Regions from separate parts of the Homo sapiens genome. Here all the other regions are linked to region 1. Evidence: promoter capture Hi-C in 16 types of primary human blood cells and fetal thymus (Javierre and others, 2016). All regions are on one chromosome and are shown on one strand. The core of a region is centred on a gene start or on the middle of the fragment in contact, and the rest is flanking DNA. Distances in the headings are between cores, read along the strand shown. Region 1 holds the start of SMARCAL1 (SNF2 related chromatin remodeling annealing helicase 1). Region 2 holds the start of NHEJ1 (non-homologous end joining factor 1). Region 3 holds the start of TTLL4 (tubulin tyrosine ligase like 4). Region 4 holds the start of ZNF142 (zinc finger protein 142).

The links. The method cuts DNA at HindIII sites, captures the fragments that hold promoters and counts their contacts. A CHiCAGO score of 5 or more calls a contact.
Region 2: a contact is called between the fragment with the promoter of NHEJ1 here and the fragment with the promoter of SMARCAL1 in region 1, in 1 of 17 cell types (neutrophils). The highest score is 7.6, in neutrophils.
Region 3: a contact is called between the fragment with the promoter of TTLL4 here and the fragment with the promoter of SMARCAL1 in region 1, in 1 of 17 cell types (neutrophils). The highest score is 7.5, in neutrophils.
Region 4: the fragment with the promoter of ZNF142 here is called in contact with the fragment with the promoter of SMARCAL1 in region 1 in 1 of 17 cell types (neutrophils); the score reaches 6.3 in neutrophils.

Annotation. Positions count from the first base shown.
Region 1 is chr2:216,410,494-216,414,436 of GRCh38, reverse strand. SMARCAL1 (SNF2 related chromatin remodeling annealing helicase 1) reads right to left here and starts at 1,953. Exons shown (of 18, transcript NM_014140.4): 1 at 1,789-1,953; 2 at 545-581. SMARCAL1-AS1 (SMARCAL1 antisense RNA 1) reads left to right here and starts at 1,937. Exons shown (of 5, transcript XR_001739881.1): 1 at 1,937-2,012. RefSeq lists enhancers at 1,844-1,933, 2,064-2,153, 1,897-2,191. The HindIII fragment of the contact is 8,553 bases long and covers 1-3,943 here.
Region 2 is chr2:219,158,496-219,162,438 of GRCh38, reverse strand. It overlaps NHEJ1 (non-homologous end joining factor 1), which reads left to right and starts at 1,624. Exons shown (of 8, transcript NM_024782.3): 1 at 1,624-1,719. It overlaps SLC23A3 (solute carrier family 23 member 3), which reads left to right. Exons shown (of 12, transcript NM_001144889.2): 11 at 45-140; 12 at 235-974. The coding sequence ends at 530. RefSeq lists a silencer at 1,840-1,959. The HindIII fragment of the contact is 12,472 bases long and covers 1-2,389 here.
Region 3 is chr2:218,708,968-218,712,910 of GRCh38, reverse strand. TTLL4 (tubulin tyrosine ligase like 4) reads right to left here and starts at 2,076. Exons shown (of 20, transcript NM_014640.5): 1 at 1,874-2,076. It overlaps LOC124907983 (a long non-coding RNA gene), which reads left to right and starts at 1,427. Exons shown (of 2, transcript XR_007088089.1): 1 at 1,427-1,691; 2 at 2,825-3,309. RefSeq lists silencers at 1,685-1,734, 1,745-1,794 and an enhancer at 2,175-2,274. The HindIII fragment of the contact is 11,438 bases long and covers 1-3,943 here.
Region 4 is chr2:218,656,930-218,660,872 of GRCh38, reverse strand. It overlaps ZNF142 (zinc finger protein 142), which reads left to right and starts at 1,250. Exons shown (of 11, transcript NM_001379659.1): 1 at 1,250-1,504; 2 at 1,743-1,893; 3 at 1,997-2,172. BCS1L (BCS1 ubiquinol-cytochrome c reductase complex chaperone) reads right to left here and starts at 1,190. Exons shown (of 8, transcript NM_001079866.2): 1 at 1,130-1,190. RefSeq lists enhancers at 1,067-1,196, 2,007-2,126. The HindIII fragment of the contact is 10,571 bases long and covers 1-2,141 here.

The DNA of each region.
Region 1 (3,943 bases), core at 704-3,203:
GGGTGTAATCCCAGCACTTTGGGAAGCTGAGGCAGGTGGATCACTTGAGGTCAGGAGTTTGAGACCAGCCTGGCCAACATGGTGAAACCCCATCTCTACTAAAAATACAAAATTAGCCAGGCGTGGTGGTGCACGCCTGTAATCCCAGCTACTTGGGAGGCTGAGGCAGGAGAATTGCTTGAACCTGGGAGGCAGAGGTTGCAGTAAGCCAAGATCGTGCCACCGCACTCCAGCCTGGGCAACAAGAACAAAACTCTCAAAGAAAAAAAAAAAAGCAAAAAGCAAATCCAAAGCTAAAAAGGCATTTCAGAGGCAATATTTCTCTCCTTCTCACATGGTAACTCACATGGTAACTCAATGGTTCGAAGCACTGCCAAAATGGTGAGTAACTCTTCTGATAACTCACATGGCCCAGCCAAGGTGAGTTATCAGAACCTAAGAAAGTTATGCATTGCAACGTAAATCCATCAGATAATGAGAAAGGTGACATTTTTAACCAGAAAGCATAATAGATTAGACTGAAATAGACCAACCAACCACATACCATGGCGTGACACTTGCTAACATAGTCTTTTTCCAACCTAGAAGAAGGAAAAAAGCATTAGCCTCCCATAGCCTGCACACTGAATTCTCCCCTCACATTCACCCCTTTTTATCATTCCTGGCAAATCAGTCTGCCTGTGGCTCAGTGCAAGCCAGAGCAGCTGGCCTTAGGACCTGACTTCCAACACAACACACGGAGCAACTGACTGACTCTCCTGGGAAAATAAGGAGCAGAAAAAAAAAAATTATGTGTTCACTGTGCAAATTAAGATGCTACATAAAGATGTAAACAAAAAAGAATAAAATTACTCTGTAATCTTACCAGCCATCAATAACCACAGTTGAAATTAATAATTTAGAGTATATAGTTCGGATTTTTTTTCATCCATAACAAAATGGCACATATTTAGGAGATATAAGAATTTATTATAAAGTAGGATCATTGTAAACATTCCATATTGCACCCTGATTATTTTTTTCCATGAATTTACCCGGAACATTTATTTTCCTATGAGCTGAGACATGTTTACAATATTTTAGAAGCAGCGGGCAGGACACACCAATTTGTCTGGCTTGGTTCAGACTAAATAGGCTGCATCTAATGTAATGCTGTGTAACGGTTACAATGATGATGTAGGGGTACTCCAGTAGCATTGCTTAGGCCTCTGGGCAGCTATAGGGTTCAAAGCCTTCCTTCCCTGCTGGGGCTCCCTTTGGCCAGAACCCAACCCCCCTCCCCCCTCCCCCACCACGAAGTATCTATCCCCAGAGAACTTCCACCTTCTCCAACCATTAGCAGTTAGGAAGGGGTGAAGAGGTTAGGAAAAGGTTTTGGAGGTGCACAGCAGAAGCCCTCAGTCTCTCTGGGTAACACACTCCTGCCTAAGTTTCCAACCAGGGATCTCCTGCACCTCCAAACTCCCCAGATCCCAGGCCTGGTAAGCTGTCTCCACTAACCAGAGAGACTCGGCCATAAGACCCACTGATCAGCCCCAAACCATAAATCCATTCCGCCACATGGACGCCCCTCTTCCCCTCTAGGCAGGGACCTCTGCCCCCCGCCCCCCACGCCCCGCATTTCGGGGCGAGCCTCACCCAGCCTCAAGGTAAGCGGGCGCCACGCCCCACTCCCACCCCTACGATCTCCACTTGGATTCACCCTTCCCATTGGCCCACTTCCTCCTCCAGGCTGGCATTGGTCTCGTCCGCCTCCGCCGCCTTCCTGCCAGTCTACCACTTTCTCACCCAGGGAGGCCTAGAACGCGAGCCACATTCGCCCCCGGCCCTGACCCCAGGCGCGACTGCAGAGCCTCCCGAGCGGGACCGGTCTTCCGAGTGGACGGTTAGGCCACGGGTATTCAAGCGCTGCGAGTTCGCCAGCCTTATTGTAGCGGCCAGGCCTGAAGGGCTAGGCCACCGCTGAACTACATTTCCCAGCAGGCAACGCGGCCGCAGTTTCGCTTCCAAAAGTAAGAATGATGAGACGAGAACGCGAGCGGGGCTGCAGTGTCTTCTGGGATTTGTAGTTCGGGCCGGGAGCCTGGCGAGAAACGGGAGCTGCAACGTCATGGGCGGGGCGAAAGTGGTGCACCCTGGAAGTTGTAGTTCTCCAGAGGTTTAGCCAAACACTAGGTCCTGAAAGCCTAGGACGTTGAGGTTTCCAAACCCGGAGTCGGCTGTCTCCAGAGGACATCCCAGACAGCCATACTAACTTGGCAGCTCTTAATAAAAAGTATCTCCCCGGGGCATCCATTCCTGGTATTGCTATACTTGCCATTTAAGCCCCACCCGCTGCGCCCGGCTGCCATCATCGTCATCATTGTAGTCATCAGTCATTGTGTTTAGCATAAATATGAGTTACCTCATTTAACCGCACTACAACCTATGGAACACATTCTTGTCCCCCTTTTACAGAGGGGGAAACTAAGACAGCTATTTGATAATATTTCTCAAGGCTTTATTAAGCTAGCTTGTGATTCTGATTCCATAGCCCCTCCTCTTGAGAGAAGATTAGTCATGAGACTTAAAGAGTCACTTTACCCCATCCTGAGCACCAACATCCTGAGCCATCCTGAGCACCATTGGTGATAAATATAACATTTCTCTATCAGTGTGCATATGAATGTTGCTATTGTTCTATTTTCAAACATGGCTCATTTAAAAACAAACAAGTCTACTAAAGGATTTGAAAAAATGGACCAGACATGCTAAGAAAAAGGAAGCACAGCAATGTGTGTAGTTTGATTTTTTTTTTTTTCATCCTTACCTGTACATGTATGTAAACTCATAAAGGTCTGGGAAGGAAACTTAAAAAGTCACCAAACTGTTCAGGAGCAGAGTGGCATGAAATACACTTTTCAGCTTTTTAATCTCTATTTTTCAGAATGATTTGAATTTTCTAAAATAATAATGTAGAATTTGTGTGACTTTTGAAACAATAAATAATCTCCCTTCTTCCTTCCTTCCTTTTTTTTTTTTTTTTTTTTTTTTTTTTTTTTTTTGAGACAGAGTCTCACTCTGTTGCCTAGACTGAGTGTGGTGGTGTAATCTTGGCTCACTTCAGCCTCTGACTCCTGGGTTCAAATGATTCTCCTGCCTCAGCCTCCCAAATAGCTGGGATTATGGGTGCATGCCGCCATGCCTGGCTGATTTTAGTAATTTTAGTAGAGACAGAGTTTTACCATGTTGGCCAGGCTGGTCTCAAACTCCTGACCTCAAGTGATCCACCTGCCTCAGCCTCCCAAAGTGCTGGGATTACAGGTGTGAGCCACTGCGCCCAGCCCATTTGTCTTAAATGACAAAGACATTGCCTGTCTTAGGGGATCTGTGTGAGGTTTAGTAGTAGAAAGTATTCAAATCTCAGCTCTACCCCTTTTATTGACCTGACATACCCAGTGATTGTGCCTCCATTTTCTCATCTGTAAAGTAAATGTAGAAAACAATACCACCTTGGTAAATCTTGTTATTAGAATCAAAGCAAGGTATTATGAGGGGAAGTGCTTAGTGAACTGTGAAATCCCAGAACAGGTAAGAGAGGGATGTTGTTATTATTTGAGGTAAATCTCTTATATCGTCCGTTTCTCTATACCTAGCGCTCATTTCCTACTGTATAGTGTGAACAGAAACTAGTTAATGAACACCTGTCCCTGCCCTTCCTGTCTCCCAACAGTCAGTTAATTTACTAAGAAAGCTGGGTGCCGTGCACTTGACTCATGTCTGTCACCGATTCATATGACCATCACTTCGCTTTCCTGGGCCTCAGTCGTCTCACCTGTAAAATGATACCCTGCTTTGACATATGCTAAGAGGGCCTGTGGACCAGTGGATCCTCATGTTAGATACTAGAATTCTTATAGATTCACAGATCTTACCCCAGAAATTCCAATTCAGTAAGTCTGGA
Region 2 (3,943 bases), core at 375-2,874, 2.7 Mb before region 1:
ATAGGATCAGAGTTCCCTTCCTGCCTGGCCCCAACTCTTCATAGGCTGGAGCCCCTTGGATGTATTACTGCACTCACTGCTGACACAGCCCATCTTCCTGGCTGGACTCTCAGGCTTCCTACTAGAGAACACGATTCCTGGTAAGTTGAGGCTAGGCCCTAGCAGACTGGGGAGTGGCCAGGAAGCCATCCCTCCCTGGGATGGGCAATAGCCTGACAAACCTCTCTTTTGCAGGCACACAGCTTGAGCGAGGCCTAGGTCAAGGGCTACCATCTCCTTTCACTGCCCAAGAGGCTCGAATGCCTCAGAAGCCCAGGGAGAAGGCTGCTCAAGTGTACAGACTTCCTTTCCCCATCCAAAACCTCTGTCCCTGCATCCCCCAGCCTCTCCACTGCCTCTGCCCACTGCCTGAAGACCCTGGGGATGAGGAAGGAGGCTCCTCTGAGCCAGAAGAGATGGCAGACTTGCTGCCTGGCTCAGGGGAGCCATGCCCTGAATCTAGCAGAGAAGGGTTTAGGTCCCAGAAATGACCAGAACGCCTACTTCTGCCCTGGTTAATTTAGCCCTAACTCTCATCTGCTGGAGAGTCAGCTCCCAAACTGTTCTTTCTTGTAGGCAGAGGATATGTGTGTGTGTATTACATGGGACTGTCTAGAGGTTCCATTTCCCAATAGGGTGGGTTGCCTTTCCTTGTCTTAATTAGGCCTAACTGTTCCAGAGCAGAGGCCATGATTTAGTGGACCATGAATGATTGAGATTTTGCCTGTGTACTATCAATGCCACTTGAACCCCAGCATTCACTTTAATACTTACTGAGCATCTCCCATGTGCAAGGTCCTGGAACTACAGGGATAAGACAGGGTCCATGCCGTCTCAAGGCATTTACGGTTTAAAAAGACCTTTGTAATTACTAACGAAAATGCAAAGCAGAAAGCAGTCTGTAATAAAGATTAAAATAATGCCGTGGGAGCAAAGAGGAAGGGATAATGAATTCTGATTGGGGACAGTGGGAAAGGCTTTATGCAAGAAGCAATGAGGATGGCCTTGACAAATGAGGATTTTTGGTTTTGGAAAATGGATGCAGAGAAGTTTTCAGGTTCGGGGTCCAGCTTGAGCAAAGCCATGGGTTGTACAAAGTCCAAGATAGGTGAGGGGTTTCAAATTTCTCAGTAGTGAGGGAGTATAAGTACGGGGATGATGGAGAAATGAAGCAGGAGAGGTAAAGGATGAGGTCGGACTATGGGACTTATGCCTGGGAGACTCCTTCCTTCAACAACTCTAGTGCTGGTGGAGGACCTGAGAGATCATCTACAGAAGTTCAATCCCTTATTTTGTTAAAAAGAGACCGGATAGGTAGGGGAGGGAAGAGAAGTGACTCAAGTTTGACAAATCCAAACCTGGGCTCCCCTCTCCTGCGCCTCGCCCGCTATTCTTTCCACTCGGCCAGCGTGACTCCAAGACGCGCCACTACCCTTCTACTAGCCGGCTGCCCGGCCTCTCCTCCACTTACCCTGGCCACTGGGGCGCTCCTCTCATCAGTGTCCCAGGCCCAGAAGCCCCGCCCACGCCAGGCATAGGCCCCGCCCCTGTATCCCAAGACCCTGCCTCCTCTTGCGGTGGGGGGAAAGCGGCCTCTTACTCTAGGCCTTTCGGTTTGCGCGAGCGGGCAGGAAAGCGTGCGTGCGGCTAAGAGAGTGGGCGCTCTCGCGGCCGCTGACGGTAGGTGGAATCGCGTTCGAGTCCGGGCAGGAGCAAGCCAGCGAGGGGCTGCTCAGACGCTGCGGGTTGGCCCTGGCGCTGGCCTTTTCTCCCTGGAGGGAGCGCGCGCTGCCGGGGTCCAGGGCAGGCCTCCGGGGGAGGGGTGGGCGGGGCCGCGCGTGCGCAGTCCGCTGGCTGCTGCCCGGCGTGGATGGTAGGGCTCGAGTGAAGGTACTCGTTGGTCGCCTGTTTGGTGCGACGAAGCCGCTGGTGGCCGGCTTTGTTGCCCCTTGAAGCCGCGCCCCAGTGCAGCCAGTGCTGTAGAAATGGGAAGGCGGACAGCGAAGGCTGTTATAGCTGGGGCGGGTGGAAGCGGGACGCCTGGCGGCTCCTGGGGTGGGGCTATGGTTGTGGTGGGACCTAGGGTTCGCGCTGTCCCAGGGGGACCGGGCGGGGCCCAGCCGGGATGCTCTCTGGGCCTCTACTGCCCTCTGCAGGGCGTCGGAGGAACTGCCCAGAGGGGTCACTGCTGAGGAGCGGACTCGGTGCAGATAAAGGTTCTCAAGGGACCCCTCCGCCGGGATGCCGCTCAGCGCCCCTCCACTCAAGAGAAATAAACCCGTGAATCTCGTTAATGTGAATGTTAGAGGCAGCCTTGAAGGAAAAAAGAAAAGGATGAAGTGTAGAAGCTTCGGACGCAGAACGGGACGCGTGTGGTGGGAGCAGGCAGCCGGGGTCTGGTGCCCAATGTGTCAGGCCTTTTTATAGGGCCCGTTACTCCTGGCCACATTTTAAACTCCTCCCCCTTTACCCAACAGACAAACAAAACCCATCAATTTGAGGGTTCTGAGCTTCCGGGCTTTCCGAAGGAATGGGCTAGAATAGTAAACCCAATTTTGGCAACTGTTAAGAGTACACTGGGGAGTGCCTATAAGGGAGATGAAAGTGGCGACTTTATTCGCGTTTGTGACCTTTGGCATTGTGGAGCTCTTGTCCGGCTAGGACTAGCTTAATCATCCCATGACCACTTCTGTCCCCATAAGAGCAGCATGTGGGAAATGTGACGGAAACACCATCCTCCAAACACAAGGCTTTGAGGATGCCATAAAGAAAGATCACCACGTATATGTATATATATGCATATATATATATGCATATATATATGCATATATATATGCATATATATATGCATATATATATATGCATATATATATGCATATATATATAAAGTTATGTCACAAGTCACAAGGGCACACTTCAAAAGCTAGGGGAAATGACTGTGTTAATCAGACTTAATAAGGAATTTCATTATTTACATTCTAAATTTTTCCTTCCTGGTACTTCTGTTCATTTTATATTTGTAGACTGGAATAATGAAGGAAATTGACATATTTTTTTCTCCCCCACAGGAAAAACAATCACATTCTCTGTCAAGCAGCCGTAGTTCTGATTGTCTACTAGGTTAAGCCTACTACTTTAGCTGCTGAGATAGAAAAGTTGTTTTGCAGGGGTTCCAGGCTGGGCATGTTGTCATTGGTGGCAGTGCACTGGAGTGGGAATGTGGAGGATGAGTTAAGTGGAAGTTAATTCAGTCTTTACCTCTGTGATGTGCTCTGCCTTGTATTCATGATTTCCTAGTCATTCTGGTTTTTGTTGAAATGAAATTTAGGTCTTTTCTGTTGCTCCTGGACACAGGTTCTTAGCTCTTTTTTGTGTCATCGATCCCTGAGAGTTTGATGATAGCTGTAGACCTCTTCCCCCTCCCCATGCATATATGCGTGTACACATAACATTTTCATATAATTCTAGAGGATTCACATGCATTGACTCTAGATTAAGAACCTGTTTTAGGGATTTTTAAAAAAATCCTGAGAGCTTCCTAAACTTTGTTTTTAGATAATGATCAAATACTTCGAATTTCCTGGCCCTGACACTATGACTTATGATGTTTTATAAGACAAGAACTATTCCTTCTCTTCTAGTTCTGGGAAAGGATAGGAGTGACATATTTATTAGGAATGTGATAAAGATGGAACAAGAAGGGTTTAGGTTTCCACGTTATGTTATAGTATTAGAAAGCAGAAATACTAACAGCAATATGCTGAGGTTTAAACACTATGGAAGAAAGATTTTCTGTCCTCTAGGAATGTAATATGGGAAAAAAAAAACCCTCAAGATTTTAAATATACTTTTAGTGGCCAGGAGGTAGTAAAGTCAGTGCTCAGCTGGTTGTATACTGGGAGAA
Region 3 (3,943 bases), core at 827-3,326, 2.3 Mb before region 1:
GGGATTGTGTATTGGCAAGCCTTCTGGGTTGGGAGGTAACTTAAATCACTAAAGGAGGTGTTCCTGAAAATAAATATTTCCAAAGTAGTCCTTATTTGTATCTGAGGACATTTTTACACTCAGGCCAATACACCATATTAAAATTTGGGAAGTGTGAGGGATTTGCCACACACAGCCTCCTACCCTTTTTTTGTAAGGGAAGTTTTAGAAAAAGAGTTCATTGGGGCCGGGCGCGGTGGCTCACACCTGTAATCCCAACATTTTGGGAGGCCGAGGCGGGTGAATCACGAGGTCAGGAGTTTGAGACCAGCCTGGCCAAGATGGTGAAACCCCGTCTCTACTAAAAAATACAAAAAATTAACCGAGCGTGGCAGCATGCGCCTCTAATCCCAGCTACTCCGGAGAATGAGGTAGGAGAATCGCTTGAACCCAGGAGGTGGAAGTTGCAGTGAGCCAAGATCGTGCCATTGCACTCCAGCCTGGGTGACGGAGCAAGACTCTGTCTCAAAAAAAAAAAAAAAAGTTCACTGGGAAGCTGAGGATCTGGAAATGTATTCATGTTAAGCTAGACGTGCAAGTGTATCCCTTGGAAGTCTACAACCCTGATTACTCCAGCTTGAAAACCACTGCTCCAGGGATATAGTTCTAACTCAGCAAAACATCCAAGGCCCTTTGTGATCTAACCCCTATTAACTTCACTCTTTCTATTTGTTACTGGATGGCTCCCTCCAAATCTAGCCCAGGTCTGTCAAACTGTTTCCAGTTCTCTTTTCAGGACTTGCTGTCCCTTTCCTAAAGCCACTGTGTATCTGGAATGTCCTCCCACCTCTCTATTCGCAGAAAACACTTGATAATTTTTCAAGGATTGATTCAGTCCAATATAAGTAGCTGCTAACTTTCTGAGCACAAAGTGGGTGGTTTAAATGCAAACAGTGTCTCAGTATTCAGTGCAAGAAACAGAAGGATGGGATGGAACACTGTCCCAAAGGGTCCCCCAAATGCTAAATCAACAGGTGCTGCAGTTAAAGAATAGGTGATTTGTAGTATCTGAGAAAGCAAAGAAGATTTCATCAAGGAAGGATTAAAATATTTCCGAGATCCAGAATGGGAATGTGAAGACCAGGAGGAATGGCAATAATGTCGTTTTCTAAGTAAGTCCGGATTAAGTATTTCCTGTTCTATCACAGCACACACCACAGTATGGCAAATGCTCGTTTACTTGATTAATAATCTCCTAGACTGTAAATTCCGTGAAAACATGCTTGTCCTATTAGCCACTCTATCCCCTCAATCCCTCCCATTGTACCCAGGCTCATTAAATATTTGTCAATGTTTACTAAAAATTGTTTAGTGAATGATTAAATAAAGGAATTGATGAATGAAGAATTAAATTCCACAGGATCTCAGATCCTGTTTGAATCTGTGGAGTTTAGGAACGTATTCTTCTACAGATACTGAGGATGGAGAAGTGAAAAAGCAGATATCCATGTTAAATTCGGCCCTGGAGCCTGCGAGGAGCTTGGGCTCACACCCAGAGGGAATTTAAACCTCAGCGCGGCAGGACAGAGGAAGCTCGGAGGCCATAACTAGGGGATGAGGCAGTGTTCGGGCACCCGGAGGCGAGGCCGACTAAGTTCGCGGGGCGTGGCGGAGAGGAGAAGGGCTCCGAGGAGGCGCGAAGTCCCGGCCGGGTAGGAGGCCGCGGCTCCCTGGCCTCCCGGGGGATGAGAGGTGGCGGGAGGAAGCGGGGCTAGGGTGAGAGTGGCCGGAGGGCTGGGGACCCGCGCGAAAGGACTCAGGTAGAGGGAGGTCGGGAGCGTGGGACCGGCGGAGTGTCTGGGGTCGGCTCCCCTGGCTCCGCAGCCGCACTCACCTAGGGGATCCAGCTTCGCCCCGGCTCGGCACCGGCTCCACGCTACTTCCTCCCTCGGCCTGCTGGGCTACCCGGCAGCCTCAGGCGCCCCTAGCAACCACGCACCGCCACGCGTGACAAGCGCACTCGGCCGCCAGCGCCGCTGCCGCCTGCCACACACCGCGCGCGCCCCCAGCGGACAGACCGAGAGTCTGGAAGAAGAGGGCGGGAGGCAAGCGCGGGGAATCTCGGGGGTTCTGGGGCCTGTAGGGGCGGGTCGTCACCTGACTCGCGCACGCGCAGTCCCTTCAGTGCGGTGGGATCCGGCGAGCGGAATTCTGGGAGATGTAGTCCCGTGGTTAAAGCTCTGAAAGGCTCCATTCGGAGCATCCAGGACTCTCTCTTTCTACTCTAATTCCACCTACTCCCTATGGACTGTTTTCTTTTTTAGAGACAGAATCTCGCTCTGTCGCCCAGGCTGGAGTGCAGCGACGTGATCATAGCTCACTGCGAACTTGAACTCCTGCTCAAGCGATCCGCCCGCCCCCAGCCTTCCGAGTAGCTGGGACTACAGGCACGCCACCATGCTGGGCTATTTTTAAATTTTTTTTCTCAGGACAGGGTCTCACTATGTTACCCAGACTGGTCTTAAACTCTTGGCCTCAAGTGATCCTCCTGCATCAGCCTCCTGGTCGCTGGGATTACAACGGGAGCCCCCACGCCTGGCCTGGACTCTTTGGCCTTGCCTCAATTGAAAATCAAAGGGCCCAGGCTCAGTTGAAGGATTTCTAGAAAAAGCCTTTGAGTTTGACCGCAGGAAAGGGGAGATTGCCCGATTCACTCTGCCTCCCTCTAACCCATCCTTCCCTAACCCCAACCCACCCAGCGGGGCAAAATTAAAACCACCTGCCTGCTTTATGGGCTTCAAGTGTGAACGTTAGGAAATACTGACTCAATTCCTTATCTCGTTAGCTCCCCAGGCAAGCCAGATCGCGCTCCTGCCTCAGATGTCCGTAGACCTGAGAGATTTGGAGATCTAAGAAAGCTGGAAGATGAAAGGATCTTTCCTAGGCAATTGGCTACAGAAATAAAGGGGACAAAGATAAAACTAATCTGATGAAAACAGTCTGGACCAGAGGAAGGATCTCAATAAATAACTTATTTAGTCAACAGTCGTTGATGGATGCTAAAAGTATTAGATAATTTATGGGAGAATTTTACACTGAAGGATGTACACTGAAGATAACCTACATGTACTAATCAATCTTAGATCACGAAACATGGGACAGCTGAGCATTGTTTCTTGATGTGATGCAATTGAACAGAAATATTTATGAAGTATAGCGTATTTTTGTAAAAAAAAAAGTTGAGTGACTCTAATCAAGTTTTGGCTGTAATTTCCAGTTAACAAGAAATAAAGAGAAACAACTGTATAACACTACAAGAAAGCAATCAAACAAATCCAGAATGTGAGCCAATGTACAGAATAAATGACCTCTTCTTCCTTCAACAATTTTAGGGTATAAAAATGAGGAGAGATGTTTTAGATTATAAGAGATTTAAGAAATATATTCAAATGTTGGCCAGGTACAGTGGCTCACACTTGTAATCCCAACACTCTGAGGATCACTTGAGGTCAGGAGTTCAAGACCAGCCTGGGCAACATGGTGAAACCCCGTCTCCAACAAAAAATACAAAAATTAGCCAGGCATGGTGGTGCACACCTGTAGCCCCCAGCTACTCAGGAGGCTGAGACAGGAGAATCGCTTGAACCCAGGAGACAGAAGTTGCAGTGAGCCAAGATTGTGCCACTGCATTCCACCCTGGGCAACAGAGCAAGACTCCCTCTTGAGAAAAAAAAAAGAAATATATTCAAATGCAATGAGTGCAGCTTGTTTGGATCCTGATTCAAACAAACTGTAAAATGACATTTTTGAGACTGAGAAATAAAAATTTTAAGTACCACCCCAACCAACTTAATGGACCCCATCGTGGCTAAGGGGACACTAGAGCAACCTTAAAAACTGAGTTCCCGGCCGGGCGCAGTGGCTTACGCCTGTAATCCCAGCACTTTGAGAGGCCAAGGCGGGC
Region 4 (3,943 bases), core at 1-2,500, 2.2 Mb before region 1:
CCACAGGTCAGCATTACTGTGTGGGTCAATACCCTCCTTTTGTGGGGTAAGGGTGGTATTGGAATGCAAGGGTGGAGGCTCCAGGTCCCTCATCCCATTTTGTCCTTCATTAGTCTACTCATACCTGTTTCCTACCAGAGGACCATGTCTGGAGATGCCTTAAACCAAAAAGAGCTATATAAACAGGCTTCACATCAGGGTAATGGATGGACAGGATTTTTGTGGTCCCTGGGACCAGCTATGATAAAAAGGGGTCCATTGGCTGCAGTCAGCAAGGGAGAAGCGTCCGTTGACTTGTCAGTAACCCTATGTCTTGTTATGAGTAATGTCCTTCAAATATCCTCCCCCTTACGTCCCCAATATTTAACGTCTTGTTTAGACCTTTATTACCTCCCACCTAAACTGTCTTTAAAATCGTAGTTCTTGAAATGGCATTTTAATAGGTCTTCACCTCCTGCTTCACGGAACATCTACACAAGGGTCCAGATCTTTCATCATAGGGATCAGCTCCAATACCATATCTCTCTCTGCTCCAGCACCTTCAATGGCTGGCTCCCAGCAGACCCCTGAATTGGGTATAAACTCAGCCTGGTACTCAAGGCTCTCTACAATACGGCGCCCACCTACCTTTCATGGATTAGCTCCTAACACTACCTGTTTAGCAAATATGCAAATACGCAACAAATATGTTCAACAAGTAAGCAACCTCCCAACTCCTTGCTCATGCAGTGCTCTTGGCTCGGAATGCCCGTTCTTTTCTCCCTCATTCTCCCCAAATGAAAATCTGCCCATCTGCTACTTTCTCCACGGATCGTCACATCGTAGACAATAAGATCCTGAGGGACAAGAGCAAAGTTGTTTCTAGTACACCTCTCCTCCAACCCCGAACCCCGGCCACTTTGCCCTGCGCCTGGCATGCAGGGAGGTGAGCTGACAGCAGTGACCTCGGCTGAGCCTCAGAACTGGGATCCAGAATTCCAAAACACCTATGCATGGAAGGCCACAGACAAAGCTCTCCCGTCCCCGGCCCCTCCGCGACACCCAGGAACCCCCTCCTGAACCTCGCCCACACCCCAGCTCGCGCCTCCAGCCACATGGTTTGGGGTAACCCGTCACTCAGCCCTCTCACCGCCGTGACTCTCTGGCCCTCCGTCTCGATGGTTTCACCGCGCCTGCACCTTGGGGAAGCTGCGTTCGGCCCCGCCCCGGGTCCTTTCATCTACTTCCCGCCACACCCACAGAGAAGCCCACGCCACTCTACCCCAGAGCTCTCGATGGTGCTTCTCCGGCTTCAGGGCTGGAGTGGGGGTGGAGGGCGGGAAAAACCACAGAGACAAAACATAGAGTACCCCGGCAGCCGGCAAGAGGAAGAGAGAGTGGCTTCCACATCCCCAATATCCTAGAGGCGGCTGAGCCGGAGGCGGTCGCACAAAGCGGGCCCCGGGGGCCGTTCCAGCCGCGGCCGACCATAGAGATGCGGCTCCCGCCGGCTCTGGGTCTGGAGGTGAGTGAGCGGCTGCGGGGCGGAACTGGGAAGGGAATGCGGGTGGAGCGAGCTGGAGGCAAAGTTTTTCGAGCCCCGGGATCAGGGTGGGCCTGGGCGCTGGGAACTCTCGGAAGGAGGTACTGAAGGGAGCACCCAGACGAGCTGGGCCCCGGCGCTGCAGTCGCGTCACGGTTCTGGACCCCGCCCGGGTACCTGCTGCTCTCAGGACAAAATCATGACGATGCTCCATCCCAAGCCTTCCAGGTTACAAACCGCCTTTCCAGTTCGCTGGCTCTTATGATCCAGCTCCTGCCCGACGATGTGGACACTGTCATCACCTCCATTTTACAGATAGGAAAGCTGAGGCCCAGAGAAGCGAAGCGACTGTGTCTGTCCAAGACCACGCGGTGAGTCAGAGCCAGAGGCAGGTGGGAACCTGGGTCGCTAGGCCGGGGCCCGTTGTTTCTCCAGGCCTTCTCTCTGCCTTAGTCTGTCCTTTCTCTTCCTCAGCCCTCCTGCCCGGAAGATAAGCGTATTTCTTCTCTGGTGCCCACCTGTCTCCTACCTCACCCTGCCCTCCCGCAGGTGAAGGTTCTTAATCTTGACGGCTCAGCGTCCTCCTTGGCTCCCCCCGGAGGCCATGTATGGTCAAGCTTGAAGATTCCCCAGAACAGCGATAATATTCAGTAAGTGGAGGCTGCAGTTTCCAGAGAATCCCTCTGACCACGGGAGTGCACTTTCCAGCCACCTTGTGAATCCCTGTGATCTGTTGTTTTGAGTCCATGGGATTCTGGAAATAGGGACTATCAGATTGCAGGATCTTGGTTTTTGTTTGTTTTTTTTTTGAGACGGAGTTTCGCTCTTGTTGCCCAAGCTGGGGTGCAATGGTGCGATCTCGGCTCACTGCAACCTCCGCCTCCCGGGTTCCAGCGATTCTCCTGCCTCAGCCTCCCGAGTAGCTGGGATTACAGGCGTGTGCCACCACACCCTGCTGATTTTTTGTATTTTTAGTAGAAACAGGGTTTCACAATGTTCGCCAGGCTGGTCTCGAACTTCTGACCTCAGGTGATCGGCCCGCCTTGGCCTCCCAAAGTGCTGGGATTACAGGCCTGAGCCACCGCGCCCGGCCTGGTTTCTTCTTCTTTTTTTCTTTTTGCATCTTGTCTGTGACTCAATTTCATGAAGTGATTCCCATCATTCTTATTAATTACTAATTATTCAGCTTAAACTCATTTTAGCCATGTATAACAGGGTATGCAATTCAATTGTCATTCATTCCTCAGTTATGTTCCCATATTTAGTTTGAGGCCATAGTCAGTTAATGAGTTTGAAATTTCTCCAAATGTGTTACGTTATAGGTGAGGAACCACTGGTTTTGTACAAGATACCTAGCTTTACTCCAATGCAGCTCCATATCTGTGGTTCTTCACTGGAATCTTCGATTGTGGGTGATTTGTGTTCGTTGAAGTGATAATGTCAGTATCACAAAGTAATATCATTGAAGTGATAATGTCAACAAATTACTAAAAAAGCTATACATCTAGGGAGAGAGACTGACAGGTAAACAACAGTGCAGTGTGACCTCGTTTCTGATAGGGCTGTGTACAGAGTGCCCTTAGGACGCCAGAAGAGAGAAGATAAGAGTTTCGGGAAGCCAGGCCCGGCGCGGTGCCTCACGCCTGTAATCCCAGCACTTTGGGAGGCCGAGGCAGGTGGATCACCTGAGTTCTGGAGTTCAAGACCAGCCCAACCAACATGGAGAAACCCCATCTCTACTAAAAATACAAAATAGTAGCCAGGCGTGGTGGTACATGCCTGTAATCCCAGCTACTCAGGAGGCTGAGGCAGGAGAATCGCTTGAACCCAGGAGGCAGAGGTTGTAGTGAGCTGAGATCGTGCCACTGCCCTCCAGCCTAGGTGACAGACTAAGACTGTCTCAAAAAAAAGAATGTCAGGAGGCCTTCATGGTGGAAGTGACATTTGTGCAGCTTCTTCAAGGATAGTTAATTGGTTAGCCAGATAAGAGAGAGAGATTGAGAAGGGGAAAAGGCATATCAAGCCAAGAGACGCAAAAGGCTGTGAGGGTATGAAAGCAAAAGAGAATGTGGTGGGTCTGGAGAATGGCACATCATCTGGTTCAGAGATCTGCTGAGGGGAGAAGTGGGAGATGAGTCAGGGGAGGTCAGCAGGAGCCAGATGATGAAGGAAGGGCCTTCCTTATAATCCATGCTGAGGAATAGTGAGATTATCAAAGGTTAAGAGGGAAAGGGACCAGGCAAGGTGGCTCACGCCTATAATCCCAGCACTTTGGGAGGCCAAAACGGGCAGATCACCCAAGGTCAGAAGTTCGAGACCAGCCTGGCCAACATGGTGAAACTCCATCGCTGTTAAAAATACAAAATTTACCTGGGCGTGTGTGGCACATGCCTGTAGTCCAGCTATTGGGGAGGCTGAGAC